5 separate regions of the Homo sapiens genome follow, and all the other regions are linked to region 4. Evidence: promoter capture Hi-C in 16 types of primary human blood cells and fetal thymus (Javierre and others, 2016). All regions are on one chromosome and are shown on one strand. Each heading gives the region's core, a stretch centred on a gene start or on the middle of the fragment in contact. The rest is flanking DNA. Distances are from core to core; before and after follow the strand shown. Region 1 holds the start of RHOQ-AS1 (RHOQ antisense RNA 1). Region 2 overlaps PRKCE (protein kinase C epsilon). Region 3 overlaps PRKCE (protein kinase C epsilon). Region 4 holds the start of EPAS1 (endothelial PAS domain protein 1). Region 5 overlaps LOC105374584 (a long non-coding RNA gene).

What was found. Contacts are between HindIII fragments. The CHiCAGO score rates a contact against its expected background, and 5 or more counts as called.
Region 1: the fragment with the promoter of RHOQ-AS1 here is called in contact with the fragment with the promoter of EPAS1 in region 4 in 2 of 17 cell types (neutrophils and naive CD8 T cells); the score reaches 8.4 in neutrophils.
Region 2: a fragment that was not itself captured here is called in contact with the fragment with the promoter of EPAS1 in region 4 in 3 of 17 cell types (endothelial precursors, M1 macrophages and M2 macrophages); the score reaches 9.8 in endothelial precursors.
Region 3: a contact is called between a fragment that was not itself captured here and the fragment with the promoter of EPAS1 in region 4, in 5 of 17 cell types (M1 macrophages, endothelial precursors, M2 macrophages and 2 more). The highest score is 10.6, in M1 macrophages.
Region 5: a fragment that was not itself captured here is called in contact with the fragment with the promoter of EPAS1 in region 4 in 1 of 17 cell types (neutrophils); the score reaches 7.1 in neutrophils.

Annotation. Positions count from the first base shown.
Region 1 is chr2:46,578,644-46,583,105 of GRCh38, reverse strand. It overlaps RHOQ-AS1 (RHOQ antisense RNA 1), which reads left to right and starts at 2,868. Exons shown (of 2, transcript NR_104182.1): 1 at 2,868-3,071. It overlaps RHOQ (ras homolog family member Q), which reads right to left. Exons shown (of 5, transcript NM_012249.4): 5 at 1-2,178. The coding sequence ends at 2,023. It overlaps PIGF (phosphatidylinositol glycan anchor biosynthesis class F), which reads left to right. Exons shown (of 6, transcript NM_002643.4): 6 at 1,515-2,169. The coding sequence ends at 1,628. The HindIII fragment of the contact is 6,203 bases long and covers 1,429-4,462 here.
Region 2 is chr2:46,023,973-46,028,356 of GRCh38, reverse strand. All of the region lies in intron 10 of PRKCE (protein kinase C epsilon), which reads right to left. Among named protein-coding and RNA genes, the nearest start is that of EPAS1, 270 kb to the left of the region's middle. The HindIII fragment of the contact is 4,201 bases long and covers 1-3,785 here.
Region 3 is chr2:45,997,173-46,001,336 of GRCh38, reverse strand. The region is part of intron 6 of PRKCE (protein kinase C epsilon); the gene reads right to left. Among named protein-coding and RNA genes, the nearest start is that of EPAS1, 300 kb to the left of the region's middle. The HindIII fragment of the contact is 288 bases long and covers 1,437-1,724 here.
Region 4 is chr2:46,295,302-46,299,676 of GRCh38, reverse strand. EPAS1 (endothelial PAS domain protein 1) reads right to left here and starts at 2,270. Exons shown (of 16, transcript NM_001430.5): 1 at 1,740-2,270. The coding sequence starts at 1,765. RefSeq lists silencers at 1,677-2,006, 2,237-2,816. The HindIII fragment of the contact is 15,577 bases long and covers 1-4,375 here.
Region 5 is chr2:46,654,877-46,658,855 of GRCh38, reverse strand. It overlaps LOC105374584 (a long non-coding RNA gene), which reads right to left. Exons shown (of 2, transcript XR_940058.3): 2 at 3,867-3,979. Among named protein-coding and RNA genes, the nearest start is that of CRIPT, 40 kb to the right of the region's middle. The HindIII fragment of the contact is 2,972 bases long and covers 1-2,736 here.

The DNA.
Region 1 (4,462 bases), core at 1,619-4,118, 280 kb before region 4:
TAATAGTTTACTGTTGTAATTCGTTTATACCATGTGTTGGACAACTCAGCTAATATGTTAATTGATTTATACAATTCCTTTCAATTTTATCTAAAAATAAGCAGACCAAAATTAAATAAGAAAGTTACATAAGATTCCATTTGAGCATACATAAGGCCATGATACTTTAATGTGAACCACCATTTCTTGGAAGAAAGAAGACATCCAAATGTCCGATTCAGAGAGAAAGTTCCTGGCCAGTCATCCAGTAGACTCTCTCCACTCTTCAATGGGAAGGTGATGCTTATATTTTTAAAAATCTCTACAAAGCTCACATACAACAAGACAGTACATCCTAGATTTGTGACTGATATGAGCATTTAAGGCTGTCATTTTCAAGTATAAAAGTTTAGTGTTCCATTACCCAATCTGTGCAGTAGACATAGCTATAAGCTCAAGTCATGTGAATTAACAGAAGCCCACCAAAGACATTTAAAAAATTATAATTTGGGCAACAGCAAGTTTAAATGTAGGAAAGGCTAGAAAAAATGTGATGAGATTGTTTCTCTAAAATGCATTAGGTTGTTCACAATGAAGCTTTGTCTAACACCATTATCTGATGCATCCATTATCTGATGCATGGCATATGCAATAAGGCAGATCCACAGCAGACCAAACAAGGAAGCTGAATTAGGTAATAGAACTAGTAATTAAGATGGTTCACCTCTAACACAGTTCTGTGGCCTGTTCCCCCCAGAGAAAGATTAGAAATGGCTCCAGTGTACCAAATAAGCTTCACAGAAGAACATGAAAATTTTCCTCCAACTTTTTTTTCTTTTTTTTTTCAAGCAGAGCCTTTCACTTAGGGACCAACTGCTTGTAGATGAAATAAATCAACATTAATTACTTCTAGCCTGATGTAATATGGCTGGAGAAAAGGGGTCTCTGGAAGCCGGTATTTTGTTTAACTTACATTCTAGGTGTGTATATAAGTTGTCGCTCTATAACTTCTGCTGTGGTTCCAACATCTATATCTGAAAGGTGGAAGCAGCTGCTCTGTTACAATTTTCATGTAACACGCTTGGATTCTAGGTCTTTCCTCTTTAACACAACTTAAAGAAAGTTTCTTGTGGTTTGGTCAGCATACACACTTCTCATTTCATTTGATGTACACAGCCAAAGTGGGAATTAAAAAAAAAAAATTACCAACTAGTTCAGAGAGCTAAATTGAGTCTATCATTATGGCAAAGTCTGACCCAAAATTTTAATTTGTAATTTTAGCATGTGTCTCATGCACTTTGGGGAGCGTCAAACTAAATCTACAATTGCCAGAAGCCTTGTTACAGTTTAATGCACATTAACTAAAATGTGTACATTTTTAGTGTTCATGATAAATGCAGTTATGACCTTATTACACTTTTGGCATTCTTTAAGAAAGCACATTAAGCTTTAATATAGAAATATTTAGGTTACACTTGTGCTCAAGTAATAATAAAACATTTGTTCTTTTTTGATCTCATACATTCTCTCCTCAGGTATGGCCCATCTCCTGTACGCTTGGAGCGACCTTTGGCTACGTGGCTGGCCTTGTTATTTCACCACTCTGGATATACTGGAATAGAAAGCAACTTACATACAAGAACAATTAACTGGAGCAAAGGGAGATATTTCTTTGTGCAGATTCTGTAAGGGCTGGGCAGAAATGTGTATGGTCAAAGCCAAGCAGTTCCATTTACAGCTCTGTTTTTTACGTAGTTACAACATGATGTGATTGTAGCTTTTTAAACTATGAAACCCCTGAGAGATTGTACCTTCTAGTTGAAATAAAGTATTTATAATAGATTGTGGCTTCAGATGCTGCTTACTGCTTCTTAAACCTTTAAGGAACATTCTTAATACACTTTATAGAATTCTGAGGACAGGTTTTGTTTTCTTTCAAGTTTTGAACTGCTTCATTACCTATAAAAGGTCTGGGTATAGCTGTAGCATTTCATTTGCTTTCTGAGAGAAATGGACAGTTTCCTTGGCCACTGAAGATGTTTCTCACGTAATTAAACAACAGTTTATACATCTTGATCCTATTCTTTTTTTTACAGTGTGTTTCTTTGGAGTTAAAATGGCTATGATAGCCTCATCAAAAACAGTCTTCAATCCCTTCTGGGTTAAAGCTGAACATTCCACATAGCAGCATGCTCCTATCTGGGAGGGAGAAAAAAAATCACAAATATATAAGATCATGTTTATACAATTGGCATGACATAAACACATCATTATAAAGAAAATTATAAAATACAGCTATGCAAAAAGAATACATTCATCATCCATGTTCATAACCCCAGAGGGGATTTTAAAATACTAGTATATGTCCTTCCAGACTTTCTATGAAAAATTATTTCACTCACCACATATTTACTGGGTATCTACTATATGTCAAGCACTGTTTAGGTCCTGGGGATATGTCAGTGAACTGAACGAAAGAGCAGAGTCCCTGCTGTGTGGCGTCCACATGTGCTGACATCTGCTGGGTAAGAGGCACAGGGGAGGGAATACAGAGCAGATGGTTGCAAATGCTGTGGGGAAAAAGCAGAGTGAGGGAGGCGGGGAGTGCTGAGGACAATGGTAGTGGGGGTCCGGGGAGGCTTCTCAATGGGGAAGTTTGAGCAGTGAGGGATACCTAGGGGAAGAGCTCCAGGCAGATAGATCCTGATGCAGGAGCATGCCTGGAGCAGTCAAGGAACAAGATCACACTGAGGATGTGGTATTTGAGCAGAGACCTGAAAAGAGTGAAAGAATGAATCATGTCCATAGGGAAGAACATTCCAGGCAGAGGGAACAACAAAAGTACAAAGGTTCTCAGGTAGAACTTTGAGGGAACAACAAAGGAGACCAGGAGGCCTGGGGAACAATGAGTAAGGCAGAGAGGGAACAGAGGCTTGTAGGCCACTGTGCGGACTTTGGCGTTTAGTCTGAGCTGGGGACCCACTGGAGGATTCTGAGCAGAGCAGTGACATGATTGCGCTTACATTTTTAAGACTTACTCTGGCTGCTGTGTTGAGAACAGATGACCATGGGGCATAGACAGAAGCAGAAAGGTGAGTTGGAAGCTATTCCAGTAAAGCAGGCCAGAGATGGAGGAGGTCTGAACCAGGTGATAGAGGGAAGAGTTAGAAAAAAGTGTCTGGATTCTGGATATGTTCTGAAGGTATGTTGTGCCGAAGGCTAGATGTGTGGTATGGGAGAAAGAGCAAGGTCAAGTACGACTTCAGGGCTTTTTTTTTTTTTTGAGACAGTTTCACTCTTGTTGCCCAGGCTGGAGTACTATGGTTCGATCTTGGCTCATCACAACCTCTGCCTTCTGGGTTCAAGCGGTTCTGCCTCAGATTCCTGACTAGCTGGGATTACAGGCATGTGCCACCACACCCAGCTAATTTTGTATTAGTAGAGATGGGGTTTCTCCATGTTGGTCAGGGTGGTCTCCAACTCCCAACCTCAGGTAATTCTGCCCGCCTCGGGCTCCCAAAGTGCTGGGATTACAGGTGTGAGCCACTGCACCCAGCTGAGGGCTTCTGACCTGAGTAACTGGGAGGACAGGCTTGGAGGGTAAAAGAAGAATCATATCTTAGACATGTTAATTTTGAGATACTCAGCCATGTAGATGGACTTGTTGAGTAAACAGCTGGATAACCAAATTGAGAATTTAGGAAAGAGGTCCAGGCTGGAGATGGAAATCCAGGAATCTTTGGTTGTAGACTGTGCAAGCTACAAGACTGACAGAAGCTCATTTAGGCCTAGGGAGTGTAGCTATAGAAGAAGACATCCACAAAGCTGAGTGCTCATCACTGGGGCCCTCCAACCAGGGACCAAGGAGGTAAAGAGATGGAGCAGAGTCCAATGAGAGGGGAGAAAAACCAAGAGAGTCCAACTGAAGAAAGTTTCAGGAAGGACGCAACTGTGCCAAATGCTGATGAGTCTAGAAATGAGATCATACTGTTTTGCAACTACTTTTTTCCCTTTAGCTACATAATAAATATGAAATCTTAACAGATAGTATGAAGTTTTAATAGATGCAGGGAATTTTTGCCATTATAAACAATTCAGCATCTTTGTAGCTCTAAGTACGTCCCTAATAATTTACTTTTATTATTAAATATTATAAATGGACAAATTATAATTTTATATAAGGTACAAAGCAATATTTTCTCTCTATATATACATATACACACACACACACGAGTGAAATGATTAAATCAACATAATTAACATCTATCACCTTAAATACTTATCATTTTGTGTGGTGAGAACATTTAAAATTTACTCTTTTAGCAATTTGGAAATACGCAGTCCACCATTATTTATTTATTCATTTATTTTGAGACAGGGTCTCACTCTGTCATCCAGGCTGGAGTGCAATGGCACTATCTCGGCTCACTGCAACCTCCACCTCCTGGGCTCAAGTGATCCTCCTTCCTCAGCCCCCCAAGTA
Region 2 (4,384 bases), core at 436-2,935, 270 kb after region 4:
AACATGTTGCAAAACACAAATGTTGTGGCAGTGAAGAAAGTTTACCCCCCAACTCAGAGCTGCTTGCTGAAAGAGTGAGGCTGGGCTAGGTTACTCTTTAAGAATCCCAACCTTCGGCCGGACGCGGTGGCTCACGCCTGTAATTCCAGCACTTTGGGAGGCTGAGACGGGCGGATCACTTGAGGTCAAGAGTTTGAGACCGGCCTGGCCAGCATGGCAAAACCCCGTCTCTACTAAAAACACAAAAGTCAGCCGGGTGCAGTGGTGGGAGCCTGTAATCCCAGCTACTCGGGAGGCTGAGGCAGGAGAATCACGTGAACCCGGGAGGCGGAGGCTGCAGTGAGCTAAGATCTTGCCACTGCACTCCAGTCTGGGCCACAGAGCCCGACTCCATCTCAAAAAAAAAAAAGAAAAAAAAGAATCCCAACCTTCAAGAGGGAGGTCCCCCAGGGTAGGTGGAAGGTGGGCCAGCAGTTCTGTAGATAACCCCCTGGTCTTGAGCCCCATCTTGGCCTTGGTCTTGGAAAGAGGATAGGGACTACGCTTCATTCTTCCAGCTAAATAGGCCATGGGACCAGTCACCACACTTCTTGTCCTTGAGACAGATCATACTGCCAAAAGAACAGGAAAATCGAAACTTTAGTGGCAAAAGAATGATACACAGAGGTAGTGCACAAGCTCAGTTTTTTGTTAAAGTTCGAATTTTTGGAGAGCATGTCATCATTTAAAATGCTAGTGCCTATGACAGTTTGGATGCTTTCATGTTCTTGTTCCCCTTCCCTGCCTTATTGTAAAATATACCTACGAATGAGAATATGTAAAATATGCATATGCATTTTAAAGATCAAATAAGACTCACTTTTAGCTGTGACCCACCTTGACAGATAGAACATGGTTGCTGGCCTTTGAAACCCCTTTAACTCTCTTTAATTGCAACCTCTCTCCCCATCCTCATTCAGTCCCTATTTGGACTTCCCTGGTAATCATGATCTTGTTTTTCTTTTCTTTTTCTTTCTTTTTTGAGATAGGGTCTCACTCTGATGCCCAGGATGAAGTACAAGTGGTACAATCATGCTTCACTGCAGCCTCAACCTCCTGGGCTCAACCTACCCTCCTACCTCAGCCTCCCGAATAGCTGGGACTACAGGTGTGTGCCACCATCCCTGGCTAATTCTTTTATTTATTTTTGAGACAGGGTCTTGCTCTGTTGCTCAGGCTGGAGTACAGTGGCATGATTATGGCTCACTGCAGCCTTGACTTCCTAGGCTCAAGCGATCCTCCCACCTTAGCCTCCAGAGTAGCTGGGACAACAGGCACACATCACCGTGCCAGGCTAATTTAAAACAATTTTTTGTAGAGACAGGGTCTCACTATGTTCCCAGGGCTCAAGCAATCCTCCTGCCTTGGCCTCCCAATGTTGGGACTACAGACATGAACCACCACACCCGGCCCCTTGCTTTTCTTTACAGTTTCATCACCCATGTGTTTCCTCCTAAGAATATTGTTTAGTCTCGCCTGTTTGGGGGTTTTATAGAAATGGAAATATGCTACATGTCTATTCTGGGACTTGCTTCTTTCCTTCTGTAGTCAGCTGTGTATCTTTTAAAATTACCAGCTCTTATGCCTCAGATCTCTGTGTTTAAGGGGTCTCATTTACTCTCTTATAAATCCCCTTCAAAAACATCCCTTAAACATCCCAAAAACATCCCTAAAATGTCATGACACAGCAAATCGACCAATTCATTCTGTTCTCTTGGATACAGGTTGTCAACCACATTTAGGAAAGCTGTGGCCAGTTCCTCACCTTTTCAACCTAAATATTTTCTTACATCAGAGTGACACTTTTGGTAGAATTAAAGATCAGAGAAATGCATTCAAACCTTCTGCATGATACCATCTTCCAAAAAGGTAACATTTCCACCACTACATTCTTAATGTTTCTGCATAGTCTTCTACGCTTCTTTCTGATTTTGTCTAACTGCCCATACTCCCGATTCTTGTCCTCCTCTACCCATGAAGTCTAAATGTCCCATTCTAGAGAATTGAGATTTTAGGTTTCACATCTTTACCTTAATCTTTGAACCATCCACATAGCTTTTATACCCTCTAACTTCGTATACTCTCCCCATGAATGCCTATGTGCTTAGACTGCGCTTTTTACTCCCATGATCCTGCAGACTGTTAGTACCATTTCCTACCAAGGAGAAAGGGGTATTTGAATATCTGCATTTCATGCTCAATAGTGTCTTCAAGATTTGAAAATTAACAATTAGCTCAAAGAGCTAAACAGAATCCCTCCTTCCTGGGATATGGATGCACAAGAATCATATCTATTGATCATTTTCAGCTTTTGGAAGGCCCCAGTTTGCTTCTGCCTATGGCGTCTACCAGGTACTGACTTCCAGTGTTTACCTAGTACCCAGGACACAGGCTCACTCTGGTTCCCATAGTGATGGGTCAGTTTGCCCTCCCAGAGATTAATGTGGTTTAAAGCAGCAGAGATCAACACTGGCCAGGGAGCTAAATGGATCTGAACTACACAAACATCCAGATCTGCCTTGGACAGGGCTTGCTCCTTTTCACACAATAACAACCCTACAAAGCCAATTTCCTTGAATCAGATGGGACCTTGCCACTGTGCTCCTGTGGGGTAGGTGGAACCCAGGGTTCTTATTCCTGTGACAAAGTCCCTTATGAGACAGCGAGAGAGTGACAGAGGGAGAGAGTGAGAGCAAGGGAGAGAGAGGGAGCACATGAGCGTGTATGTGACCCGGAAGGGGCACTTCAACGCTTGTGCCTCAGTTTCCTCCAATTTGTAGGAGTATACCTACTAGTCAGCCCACTCATCTCTTCCTCTGATTTTCATTCTCTGGTTCACCTATTAGCCTAACCTCCCTAGGTGGACCAGCAGTTCTTTGAACAAGGATTGTGTCTTTTTCTATCCCTGGAATACCTGATATTAAGTTGAAGACATACCGTACCAGGTACTAAAAAAAATACTGGTTGTCTAATGTATACTGAAGCAGAACACTTCGTCCCTGGCTGGGGGTGTGTGTTCCAGATGTCTTACGTTCCCTGGTACTGCTCCTGCACAGCTGTTTTTTAACACTTCAGGGTTCAGTTACTCTGCCTAGCACTGCTGCACCTCAGTCACCACGTCTGGCAATCCAAATGGATCTTGCCAACCCCGGGAGTTCTCTCGTGAATTCTTTTGTAAACATTTTATAATAGGAGTTAGCTTTTGCAAGGTCAACAATCACACCTACATTTGTTTTTTTTTACAGTCAAATTTTCGAGCTTTCTTTCAGTGGAGCCTACCTATACTTTGTGAAGTGTGTTTAATCTCTGAGTTATGTACATCAAAAGATACTTCCTAGATCTTTAAGAAGCTCTCCCAAGGGAATAAAACTCTGGGCAAATTGGATGGTAGAAGTATTTCACCATTCATGACAACGTGTTTCCTTTGGTTGTGTTGGTATGTTTTTAGTGTTAACACTGGTGAATCTAGAAAGTTTTCATAAACTGGGGCTTGATAAAGGAGGTTGGATTTAAACTCTTACCTGAAAAAGAAAAAAAAATACCAAAAACACATGGGGATAGGTTGGATAAATGGTGAAAGAAACACTGAGAACAAAAGTCATTTTCCCCATTCACTCTCATCCTTGGACACTTTACTGGACCTTCCACCCTCCTTCTGAAGTCCAGGGAAGGCCACAAACTTCTCAGGCCCAAATCTGTTAGCACCAGCAGGCTCAGCTCTAAGAGCCAGAGCCAGGTAATAAGCTTAGCTTCCTAGCAACCCGCACACAAGTGTTCCCGATAAAATGGATTACATACTGCTGATGAATCCCAGGTGAATATCATACTGACCCAACAAAGGAATTAATTTGTACCTCCTGCCACACTAAGGAGGCGGACTGAGAGAATTCTTTTTGCCCATGATCCTTCCTGGCATTCTCCCTGGAACGTCATGGTAAAAACAAAATGCTCCAATGAGGTCAAAAGTGGAGGCTTCAACTTCCTATTGCCTCTGCAAAAAAAAAAAAAAAATGTCCTCATAACAGGAAGCAGAGGGTCTGTTTTTCCATCAGTTGCTTTCCCAATACAACTCAGATTGCCTGGAATACCACCCTTAAAGAATTACTCCAGGGTGCCCTGGGCAACTCACGTAAGTAGTTCAGTCACCCCAGTATAAATCAACCAATTGCCATTTTATTTACACCTTGGGCTCTTGGGACCTTGGTTTATCAATCCTCAGGAGGCTAATCTCCCCTGGGCATTCAGACAAAATGAGGTTTCTATAATAGAAGCTAGCTAACCAGGTTTGAATTTAGGCTCTGCCGCTTCCAGCTGTATGATCCCTCTTTGGAATAACAGTCCTACC
Region 3 (4,164 bases), core at 331-2,830, 300 kb after region 4:
GATTGTATTATATGTTCATGAAGTATTACATGTTCATTTAAGATATAATTTGGAAAATACAGAAATATATATATATATATATATGTCTTCCATCATACAAAACCAAAATCATTCATTAAACCACCTTGCAGAGATAACCACTGTTTCTAGTACTTCATTCCAGCCATCCTTTCTACGTATACCCTAAATATAGATAAGTAAGTAAATGTCACATTTATATTTCCCTCCAGGGACTGGGAATCTTTCAGATCTCCAGTCTGAATTCAATGAATTCCTTTGCTTTTCCCTCTTCACTTAGTTGTCCTTGGTGTAAGACATCACAGGTGAAAACAACCTGCTCATTGAAGTCTGGCACCTAAGGGGCTTAGAAGTCAGCAGCACTCCATTCTAACAAGCAAAACGCTGAACAAACTACAAAATCAACAGCTCTTCCGAGATCCACCAAGTGAAGTGAAGTCCTAGGGCAAACTGAAACTGCTGCTCCCAGAATTAGACAGCCAACCAGGCGAATACAGAGAATCGCAACTTACTGAAGCAGAAACCTCTGTAGGAACAATGCTGGGGTAGAAAAACTGTAACTGTAACCAACAAATGGGCTCAGAGCAGACAAGCCTGAGAGTCAAAAACTCTAAGGGGGACCCAGTCGTTGAGTTGATAGACTTTTGTACATTCAGTTGAGAGTCGTGCTCTTCAGGAGCTCAACTAGATTCTCATAGTAAATATGGAGAAAATCTCAGGATTTCAGTGTGGGGGTTGGGGGTGGGGAACGTGGGGAGAGAACCATTTTTTAAAATAGCCCAGAGCACTCTGCTCTTCTTAACGAGGGCTTCTCTTAGGAGAAACTATTTTATCAGAGGTTGAGGGTTGTTTTTTTTTTTTATCAGAGATTGAGGTTTTATCAGACCCCGACTGATCTGGGGACAAGGAAATCCCCAACTCCAGCCCACTCTAGCCATCCTGTCCTATCTAAGGCCAGGGGAGGACTGAACAGCACTTGTGAGGTTCACAGCTCAAAGGCACAAATTCATGAAAACACCCTAATCACAGCTCTATGTAATTCTTTCCCTCCCTCCACACGTTACTCACATTACTAACAGCCTGTTTACTGACAGTTCCTTTTACCCGGTATATAATGTCTGGCAAGAAAAAACTGTAAGGCATCCTAAAAGGCAAAGAAAAAAAAAAACAAAAAAACCCCAAAAAACCAGTTTGAAGTGACAAGGCAAACATCAGAACTAGACTCAGATATAGCAGGGATGCTGGAATTATCTGACTGGGAATTTAAAACAACTATGATTAATATGCTAAGGGTTCTAATGGATAATGTACACAGCATGTAAGAACAAATGGGCAGTATAAGCAGAGAGATGGAAATGCTAAGAAAGAATCAGAAGAACTGCTAGAGATCAAAAACACTAACAGAAATGAAGAAAGCTTCTGATGGGCTTATTAGTAGTCTAGACATGGCTGAAGAAACAATCTCTGAGCTTCAGGATATATCCATAGCAGCTTCAAAAATGAAAAAATAAAGAGAACAAAGACTGGAAAAAATATCCAAGGATTGGGTGATAACTACAAAAAGTGTAACATATGCAAAAAGAGACTACCACTACGAGAAGAAAGAGAAAGGAACAGAAAAAAATATTAATATTTGATACAATGAGGACAGAGAATTTCCCAAAATTAATGTCAGACACCAAACCAAACCACAGCTCCAGGAAGCTTGAAGAACACCACACAGGATAAATGCCAAAAAGAAACAAACAAACAAACCAACAAAAAACTATACCAAGGCATATAATTTCTAAACTACAGAAAATCAACTATTTAAAAAACGCTGAAAGAAGTCAAAGGAAAAAAAAAAGTTTTACCTATAAAGGAGGAAAAATAAGAATTACATCCAACCTCTCCTCAGAAACCATGCCATCAAGAAGTTAAATATTCAAAATGTTGAGATAAAAACCCCACCACCCTAGAATTCTCTACCCTGCAATATTATCCTTCAAAAGTGAAGGAGAAATTAAAACTTCCTCAGACAAACAAAAATGGAAGGAATTTATGGGCAGTGATCTGCCTTGTAAGAAATGTTAAAAGTAGTTCTTCAGAGAGAAGACAAATGATACAGCTCAGAAACTTGGATCTACATGAAAAAGAGAGCAGGTAAAGAAAGGTGAAGAAATAAGTGGAGGTAAAATAAAAACTTTTATTTTTATTCTTAATTAATTTAACAGCTAATGGTTTGCCCAAAATCATAATATTAGTAATGTGCTGATTATGTGTAATTATAGTATTTCATATATGCTAGGTATGCTTATGTGTAAGTGAAATAAATGATAGTAATGAGACAAGGATGGCAGGGAGGAATTAGGATAATTTTGTTATTATAAGGTACTTGTACTGTCATGAAGCAGCACAATATTATTTGAAAGTAGATTTGGATTTGTTGTAAATGCATACTGCAAACTCCACAGCAAGCACTAAAATAAGTAAAAAAGAAAGTATAAATGATACGCTAAGAAAGGAGAGAAACAATACGAACATATTAAATGCTCAATTAAAACCACAAAAGGCAGAAAATGAGTGGAAGACAAACATAGAAACAAAGAATAAGGGCAACAAATAGAAAACAGTACTAACTATAGTAGATATTAACCCAAGTATGTCAATAATCAATAATCATTGACTTCAAATGTCAATAGTCTAAATATACCAATTAAAAGACAGATTGTTAGAGTGGATCAAAAAAAACAAGACCCAACTAACTATATGTTGTTCACAAGAAACCCACCTTAAAGACACATACAGATTAAAAGTAAAGACATAGAGTAAGATATACCATGCTAACACTAAACCCAAAAAAGCAGAAAAGCTAAATTAATTTCAGACCCAGCAGACTTCAGAGCAAGGAAAGTTATTAGGGATAAAAAGGTCAATTCTCAAAAAAGACGTAATTTTTAACGTGTATGTACCTAAAACCAGAGCATCAAAGTAAGTGAGGCAAAAACTGATGGTACTACAAGGAGAAACAGATGATGCTGCTATTATAATTGGAGACTTCAGCACCCCTTTATTCAAAAATAAACAGATCTAGCAGGCAGAAACATTAATCAAATCAACAGCAACATTAATCAACAGCAACATTAATCAACTGAATCAACAGCAACATTAATCAACTGAATATAACTGACATCTATCAACAACTTCATTCGGTGACAGAAGAATACACATTCTTCTCAAGATATGAAGCAATCACCAAGAAAGACCACATTCTGGGCCATAAAATACACCTTAACAAATTTAAAAGAATGGAAATCATACAATGTTGGCTTTAGACCACAATGGAATTAACCTGGAAATCAATAAGAGAAAGATAGCTCAAAAATTCCAAAATACTTGGAGATTAAACACATTGCTAAATAGCATATGAGTGAGAAAAGAAATCTCAAGATAAGTTTTAAAATATTTTGAATTAATTAAAATACAACTTACCGGCCGGGTATGGAAGCTCATGCCTGTAATCCCAGCACTTTGGGAGGCCAAGGCAGGTGGATCACTTGAGGTCAGGAGTTTGAGACCAGCCTGGCCAACATGGCAAAACCCCATCTCTACTAAAAATACAAAAATTAGCCAGGTGTGGTGGCGTATGCCTGCAATCCCAGCTATTTGGGAGGCTGAGGCAGGAGAATCGCTTGAACTCGGGAGGCAGAGGTTGTAGTGAGCCGAGATCATACCACTGCACTCCAGCCTGGGTGACAGAGTGAGACTCTGTCTCAAAAAAATAAATAAATAAAATAAAAATAAAAAATGAAATAAAATAAAATACAACATCAAAATTAGTGGGATATAGCAAAAGCAGTGCTTCAAAGGAAGTTTATAGCATTGAATGCATATATTAGGAAAAACATTCTAAAAATCAATAATCTAAGCCTCTATCTTAGGAAACTAGAAAAAGGAGACCAAAGTAGCTTACTTAAATCCAAAGTAAGCAGGAGAAAAGAAATAATAAGAATTAGAGCAAAAATCATTTGAATTAAAAACAGAAAATCAGTAGAGAAAAACCAACAACAAAAAGCTGGTTCTTTGTAAAGAGCAATAGACTCAATAAGCCTCTAGTAAGGCTAGTGAGAGAGAGAGAGAGAAAGAGAAGACACAAATTATTAATAT
Region 4 (4,375 bases), core at 1,021-3,520:
GTCAAGATTACTGTCAGGCCCCACCTCGGCGATTGCCACATTCCCGATAGGCATCGCAGTTGTAAAATACACAAGTTCCCTCCCCGGCTCCGGACCCGAAAGCGTCTGCAGGCGCTGTCTATAACTTTGCTTTTCGATGGTTCAGTCATTATTAGCATTATGATTGGTTTTTACAAAACGCACTGGAATCTTAAGAGTCTTTTCCTTGCTCTGCTGCCTTCAAAAGACATGGAACCCCAGGACTGCTCCGAGGGCCCTGGGAATGTGCCGGCTGCAGTCTCAGGGCTCCCTCACTTGTCTTGGGTCTGAGGGCGCGACGGTGACGAGAAAGGGGGGACTACGGCCAGGAAAGGGGAGCAGGGCCCAATCCCCTCCCCTAGCGATCCCGCAGTGAAGGGCCCGGGCGCCGAGCCAGGACAGGCGCGATTCGCTCCCGTTTATCAAATCCTTATCGGTGCCCCGAGGTGGGAACCGCTGCTTTCGACCGGAGGATACACGGTTTCTGGCTCCAGTCCCGTAGTGGAAGTTGGAACAAGAGCAAATCAACCTCGGCAGTGAGCCCTCCCGGCCAGTCACCTCCCTCCCTTAGCGAGTCGGTCCTCCTCATCCTCGCACCTCTATACCGCCGCTCCGCCGCTGGTTTCCCGCGGCTCAGGCGGTTCAGCCGGCCGCGCGTTGGATTCCAGCTTCCCGCAGCATAGCCTCGCCAAGCCGCGGCCAAGCGCGGGGCTGGAAGCTCCAGGCCACTGGGGCCGCACGGGTGGAGACAGGAGGAGAAAGGGGACAGGCGGCGAGCCGCACACATTTGCAGAAGTTGAGGCCCTGCCTGCTTCTGCGCGGCCGCGCAGAGGGCTCGAACCCTCGCTCGGGTAGCGCCGGGCCCGGCTGGACTGGGAGCGGCCGGGAGAGGGCGAGAGGGCAGCAAGAAATGGCCAGAGTTGCCTCTCACCCAGTGCCGAGAGGCTCGCGAGGGCAGGCGGGCAGATCGTGGCTGCCCTTCTCTGTCCTCTTCGGAGACAGACACCCGGACCTGCCAGGGACATCCAGTGTTGCCGTCCGCTTCCTACACACCGAACCATCTGCCCCCGCAGGGCAATCCAGGTCACTCACTACCTACTCTCCCCAGAGTCAAGGTGCGGCACGAGGAAGTGGGTTCTCCAACCTTCGGTGGGGTCTGGAGCCCGGCAGCGGGGCGCTCTGAAGGGTCCTGGCTCCTCGGTAGGATCGTGTCCCTGAGCCGCTCTCCGCCTCCCGCCCCCCTTTGCCCACTTGGGCCGCGGCGCGGGCACAGGAGCGCATTTGGAAGGACTCCGCGAATCCAGAGAAAAATAGAGACGTGGATGCTGCCCCAAAATGAGAGACCAGAGAAAGTCGAGGACATGCACCCACAAACATTTCCAAGCGCCGGTGGCCACGGTAATCTGCTGCGGGGCGGCTGGGAGATTTTCAAAGGCACCGCGGAAGCACCTCCGACCTCCAGGCCATCTCCCTCGGCCTCCTGGCCTCGCCGTGCGCGCAAATCCCCGACTCCTCCGAGCCGCAGAAGTCTCCACTGCAAAGCTGCTGATCCGCGCCCCCAAACCGGGCACATGCTCTCCCCCTCACAGCCCTCCAAACCGAGCCTCGAGCTCCGAAGACCTCTCAGCACTCTTCTCCCAACCACTCTCGGTCGCGCCTGCCCCGCGCAGCCCGGCCCTGGCCTCGGACCGGCCCCCTGATCGGCCCGGACGCCCGCTTACCTTTTCTTCTCCTTGTCAGCTGTCATTGTCGCTGTGGCCCTTTGAGACGTTCAGACGCCGAGCACCTGGGCTCCCTGGCGGGTGGGGGGCTGTGGCCCTCGTCCGCTCCCCGCGGCCCGGGCGGGTGGTGAAGGTCCGAGGTGCGCGCAGGTCCCGAGCGCCCCGCGCAGTCAGGTGGAAGGTGGCGCGCGGCGGGCTAGGTGCGGGGGCGGGGGTGGAGAAAGGTGACTGGGAGGAACCTGCGCGCGGAGGCGGGGTCCGGGGAAGGAGTGGGTGGAGGCTGTCAGACCCGAAAAGAGGACGGAGAGAAGGGAACCCAAGTTCCTTTTTCCCTGGAAAAGGAGTCACTTTTCTGAGTTTTCAAAGAAAAAAAAAAGTGGCTCGAATGCTGGGAGTCGGAAGGAGTCGGAGGCCGGGCTGAGCTGACCATACAGTCTCAGGACACTGCCGAGGATTGTACGGCCGCCTCAGGAGCGCTGGGGCGGAAGCGCAGCGGGCACCGGACCCGTGTGGCGGTCCGCTCGCGAGTGTAAAGCTCCCGCGGCCGGCAGCCCACTTTAAAAACTCCGTCGGCCGGCTTGGGGCGGGCACGGGGCGGGCGCGGAGGGCGGGGGGCGGGCACCGGCGCGGGTGTGTGGGCGGGCACGCGCCGGCAGGCCCCGCCCGCGCCGAGCTCCGGGCGGCTCACTGCGTCCCGGCCAATGGGGACGCGCGGCCGCAGCCTCTGCCCTGACCCTGGCCCGCCTCCTGCCCCCGCGCTGCGCCCCGCCTCCTGCCTCCGCACTTCGAGGACTTGTTTATGAGGTCGTCTGGGCGGCGGGTAGCGGGGTGGGACTCCGCGTCGGGGAGAGGCAGCCTGCGCAGGGCCGAGGGGCGGCCGGGAGCCGGGCTCCGGGATTGCTGCGGGGGACGGCAGTTGCGCCACAGCGTCGGTGTCCTCGTACCGGCGCCGTGCCCTTGGAACGAGGGCAGGACCGCGGGCAGCGCCGGGCCAGCGCGGAGCCCCTCCACGCTGCTGCGCTCCTGCGTCCCTGGCCCTCGGGCCAGGTGGGGATAATTTCTCGGCCCCCAGCGGCTGCGTTTCGGGCGTGGGCGATGCGCCCTTTTCGGTGGGACGCAGCTGACTTGACCGTCTGGGAGAAGCAGTGCAAGGAAATTGATCTAGGGCTGCGCCTACTCTTCCTTCCCTCTCCCAGCAGGGTGGTTGCTTACCGGCTTGTGCCAGGCGGTTTGGTTTTGGCGGGGATGCGGCAGAGGAGGCCCTTTGAGCCGCCCGAGGCCGGGGCGAGTTCAGAATTGGAGAAGTCAGTCTGGTTCCCCAGTGTGATCTTGGAGTGACAAGAGTTGGCCATGTGCCCTCAAGTCACTGCATCTCAGGCCTGCCCTCTCTGCCGCCAGGGTCGATGGAAGTCCTGGGAAACCCAAAGGCTACAGGTGTTGGAAATTTGTAGATTTAAGGGCTCACACAGGCAACGGTTAGCGCTCAGGGATTTTCCAGCGGCGCTTTTGACGCTGCCTTCCATCTCCGGGCCCAGTGCTCCCCTGCCCCGCGCTGAGCTGTCTCCCACTCGCTACCGGCGATGGGGAAGGGACATCTGGGGAGAGGACAGGGGACGCCCTTAGTTTTTGAAGGCTGTGGAAGGACCCATGAGTTTCACAGGTGTAACTTGAAGTTGGAAAGCGAGGGCCAAAGAACTGGTCTATATCTCTCCCTTTAGCCTCTTGCCACATTTTATACTAGAACGATCTACAGAAGCGATTTGAAGAGAAGGGTAGGTTTCAGCGCCATAATAAAAATGAACACGTGTTTTCCCCGTGTACACAGAAAGGGTTGGGGGAGATACTTTTCAGGAGCCTGGAGAAGGCGAAGTGGGGAGAGGGCAAAAACTGACGAAGAATTGGGAAATACTTTTTTTTTTTTTTTGAGACTGAGTCCCACTCTGTCGCCCAGGCTGGAGTGCTGTGGCCCCATCTCGACTCACTGCAACCTCCGCTTCCCGCGATTCTTGTGGCTCAGCCTCCGGAGTAACTGGAATTAAAGGCGCCCACCACCACCCTCAGCTAATTTTTGTATTTTTAGTAGAGACGGGAGTTTTACCATGTTGGCCAGGCTGGTCTCAAACTCCTGACCTCAAGTGATCTGCCCAACTTGGCCTCTCAAAGTATTGGGATTACAGGCGTGAGTCACTGTGCCCGGCCGGGAAGTAGACGTATTTTGTCATTTTCTCAGATCTCGGGGCACGGAGCACCTATACAGGTTGATAGTCAACGAATTCAAAGATTGCAAATCTCTCTCTAGCGAACTATTTCATGGGGCTGGTGGGTTTCAGGAACGGGGTGATTTGGTACTGGGCTTCTCCAGCCAGCCATTTCTAGTGGACACATTTATGTATTTTAATGAGTTCAAATTGGTAGATAGTTCTCCCTTAACCATAGGCTTATTTCCCTCACTTGGGACTAGAGTGCGGGAAAAGGGCACCTTGGTGGCTTCCAGGTGCCTACAGTAGTTCACCACAACAGCCTCTGAGTCCTGGACTGTGCTTGACAGATCGAGGCAACACCTCCAACCCATAGAGAACATAGCCTTTTAGATCTTGTTTTTAAAGAGGAAAGGCAAGGAGGGGTCACTCAAGACC
Region 5 (3,979 bases), core at 1-2,500, 360 kb before region 4:
CCCTGGTGCAGTCCAGATGGGCCAGCCTCATGGGACACACGGCAGTATGGAGAAGCCTGGAGACGGAGCTGAAGGGGCAAATGGAAATTATTCAGCAGATGTATGTGGCAACATTGTAAAGGGTAAAGGAGTCATCAGCAGACATTTCAGCATCATGGTCGCCTCTGAAGGGTGACCTTCACGCTACCTTCGATAGCGGTGGTAATATTCTATGCCTTAAATTGAGTGGTGGGGCCGCAAGTGCTTATTTTATTCTTCTTCAGCAAGACACATATATTATTTACATTTATTTGCAGATAGAATCCATTTCATAGAATATTTTTAGCAAGTTAATATGGTAGTAACTAGGTAGGTGAGGTAAAATGAAAAGAGCATTCACTAGGCCTGGAGACAAAAGGTGGATGGAATCTAGGCTTTACCACTAAGTAGCTCAGATTAAGCAAATAAATAATCTTTGACGAACCCTGTCAGAGGCTGGGGAACCACTGTCCCTAGCCCCACCTGAAATTAAGTACTGTTGTATCAGCAGCCTTTTTGGGGCCTAATCCTCAACTGAAAGTCAAGATATAGTACTCTTCTCACATGGTTGCTATGATTAAATTAAAGTATATACAGTATATGAAATCATGTGCTACACTAACTGGTGCCTACTTACATATTTTTGCCTCTTCTCTATCCTACCTATGTCCTGTTGTGTATTTCTTTGCAAGTTCCTGTGCTCTGGCCAATCCAATCTCCCTGACCCCCGACCCTGTCCCACTTGGTGCTATATCCAGACAGAAGTTCATGCCCCAAGTCCTTCCCCAGCCTGGTCCTCCCACGTGTCCATCAGCCTGGCTCAAGCCCCACCCTTCCAGGGTGCTCAGCACAGTGTCTCTGTAGTCCTTTACAAACTAGATGTTAATAAAAATAGGAGTTAAGGTATCATCACACATGCTCTCACTGAATGCAACTGGGGCCGGGCGCAGTGGCTCACACCTGCAATCCCAACACTTTGGGAGGCCGAAGGTGGGTGGATCACCTGAGGTCAGGAGTTCGAGACTAGCCTGGCCAACATGGTGAAACCTGGTCTCTACTAAAAATACAAAAATTAGCCGGGCATGGTAGTGCATGCTGATAATCCCAGCTACTCGGGAGGCTGAGGCAGGAGAATTGCTTGAACCCGGGAGGCGGAGGTTGCAGTGAGCTGAGATCGCACCACTGCACTCCAGCCTGGGTGACAAGAGCAAAACTCCATCTAAAAAAAAAAAAAAAAAAAAAAAAAGCAATTGGGACTGTTGACCAGTTAACAGACAATGAAACACACCAGCCTTCAACATCTTATTTTAACTTAAAATGTACAAATATGTGCTTCTTGGCCACTGTTTTGATGAAAGACCCAGGCATTTTATTTGAGCATGAGCTTGTCATCATCTTTCTTGCATCATTCCAGTTTCTGTAAGTTGGAGCAAGAACATAGTCAAGTGTTCTTGTCAAGTCTGTGACCTTGAGAAGTGCAAGATCTTGCAACAGACCTGGTACCAGAAGGACTTTGTATTCCTAAGCACAGTGCTAACTGGAGTAGTGTCCTACAAATTTAGCTGAATTGCACAGAGCTTCTTGGATGGGGGCCGGAAGAGGATTGGGACAAGAACAAATAGGAGAAGCTGTAAGATATGGTGAGTGCCAAAGGAAACTCGTCTTAAATGATAACACTGCCTCTGGTGGTCAATCTCTAGATCAATAACTGGGCACAGTTTCACAGGTACCAAAGCCTTCCACCAGGTCTGTCCCTCTCATATTCAGTTGCTGAATCCTCTTTTCGGGTGTGTGTGTAGGGGCTGGGGTTTGGGAGGCTGGGGAGAAGAGGACAAGCATGGTGAGTGGGGCAGGCTTCACTTTCCCTCCTGAACTCAGCTTCCTTGGCATCTCTGTGCCATTCTTTGTCCACTCTTTGCTCCCAGGTCAGAATTCAGTTCTCAGCAATTTACAAAAGTCTTGACTTGGCCCTGGAATGCTGGCAAGCTCCAGCGGAATCAGAGACCTGAGCACAGTTCCCTAGGGCTGTTGAGGCTTCATGTGAGAGGCTTAGCAAATCCCAAGGAGAGAGTCAGTATACACACGTGCATATACATATGTGTGTATGTGTGAACAGGTATGTATGTGTGTGATTCTTCCCCCCACCTAAGCCAGGTGAGTAAAAACTGTAAATTGCAGGGATTAAAGAAATGCCCTTCCAGTTTATGGCCCCAGGAATTTCAAGGTGTGTACACGGAGGCTATAAATTATATTGTTTTTAATAAATATAATCTTATTTCCCCCACATGGACAAGGATCTCCCAGGGTGCAAGGGAGGCCAGGAAAGTCCAGCTTGTCTGGTGGGGATCAGTCCTTCCCATAGTGCAGCCAGCTATGGGGGGCATGCGGGCTGTGTAGGGAAAGACAGCCAGGTGGAGGCACGCTGGCTACAGTGGCTGCGGCAGAGGGTAGGCAGGGGTGGTGACATAGAAACCCAGGCCCCTTTAGCACTGTGTTTCTCATCCTCCTGTCCACCCACAGATCCTGATTTAGGAGAGCTGGAGAATGGCTGTGAAACTGCTGCCTGGCAGGAAAAAGGAAGGGAATTCCTGAAGTGCTCCTGATTAGCGCTCCCAGAGTGTTAGTCATTTATTTCTTGTTAGCATGACTTGGGTTCTTTAAAGATTTGGACTGGATGTGAAGAAGTCCCAAGGGCAATTACAGCCTGGGTTAAAAGCTTGTAGGAGTTAGGACCTTCTAGCACAGGCTCCTGACATTAAAGATGTTCAAACTATTGCCCAGAGAGGTCCACTGACTTGCCCCAGGTCACACAGCTCATTGGATGGCATGCTTCATGTTTTTTTTTTTTTTAAAGACTGAAACATTCAGAAAAGTTTCATTGATTTTTACACTAAATGAAGAGCAAATTTGTAACCGGTTTCTTTGTTGACTAGCTTTGGAACTTTGGGCAGTGATTTTTAAAAACTTATTATTTTTTTGTAGAGGCAGGCTGGTCTCAAACCCCTGGGCTCAAGCAATCCTCCTGCCTTGGCTTCCCAGAGTGCTGGGATTACAGGCGTGAGTCACCGTGCCCAGCCTGTGTAAGTGATTTAACCTCCATTTCCTCCTCTGTAAAATGGAGTAAATAACACCTCCCAAGATCATTGTGAGGATGCATAAGTTAACGTGTATGAGGCATCTATCTCAAGAACTCCAAGGACTCAATAAATGTTAGGTCTCCTTTCCTTCCCTCAGTATTCATTTTCTCCTCCCTGCCCTTTAAAATCACAGTTAACAAAAAATAAGTTCACAGCTGATTTCATAGGCAAGCTCACCTCAGTCCATATTGCAATGCAATGCAAATAGAGATGTCCTAGCCAGTCTGGGTAAGTCAGTGGCATAGTAAAAGGGATTGTGAGCAGGACGCTGAGAACAAGGGATGGGATTGGGTGGGGCGGGGATTGACTGAAGAGAAAAGGTCTCCAAAGGGAAGGTCGGAGGAGACTCTTACCAGTTATTAAAAAGATGTACTACAGAAGGACAGGCCTTGAGAGAGAGAAAGGGAGATGATAGTGACAGGACCAGAAGAGGAACTACTCAGATGCCATGGGTGGGAGTCCGATTAAGCAAGGAGGCCTGGGACGACTGTGGAGCCCACAGATCCCAGGAGCAAAACAAGCAGTCATTCAACTCCAGTCCCCCAAGGCAGACAGGTGAGCATCAAAGTGTGTGGGTTGCCTGGCGATGAAGCCCAAAGAAAGACACCTCCTTCCTCTGCAGCCATATGAGCTAAGGGAAGGATATGCCCGACCTTCTGCAGCTTTGGCAGAGGGGGCCTTGTCAGCTTCATATACCAGCTACCAAAGGAGTGATTCTAAAAACTGTTTTATGTTCATTACACTTCTTATTACAGCTCTTGTGCCAAAGATGCTTGGCAATGGAAAGCAGAGTGCTTGATTTGTGTAATAGATATTTTCACATG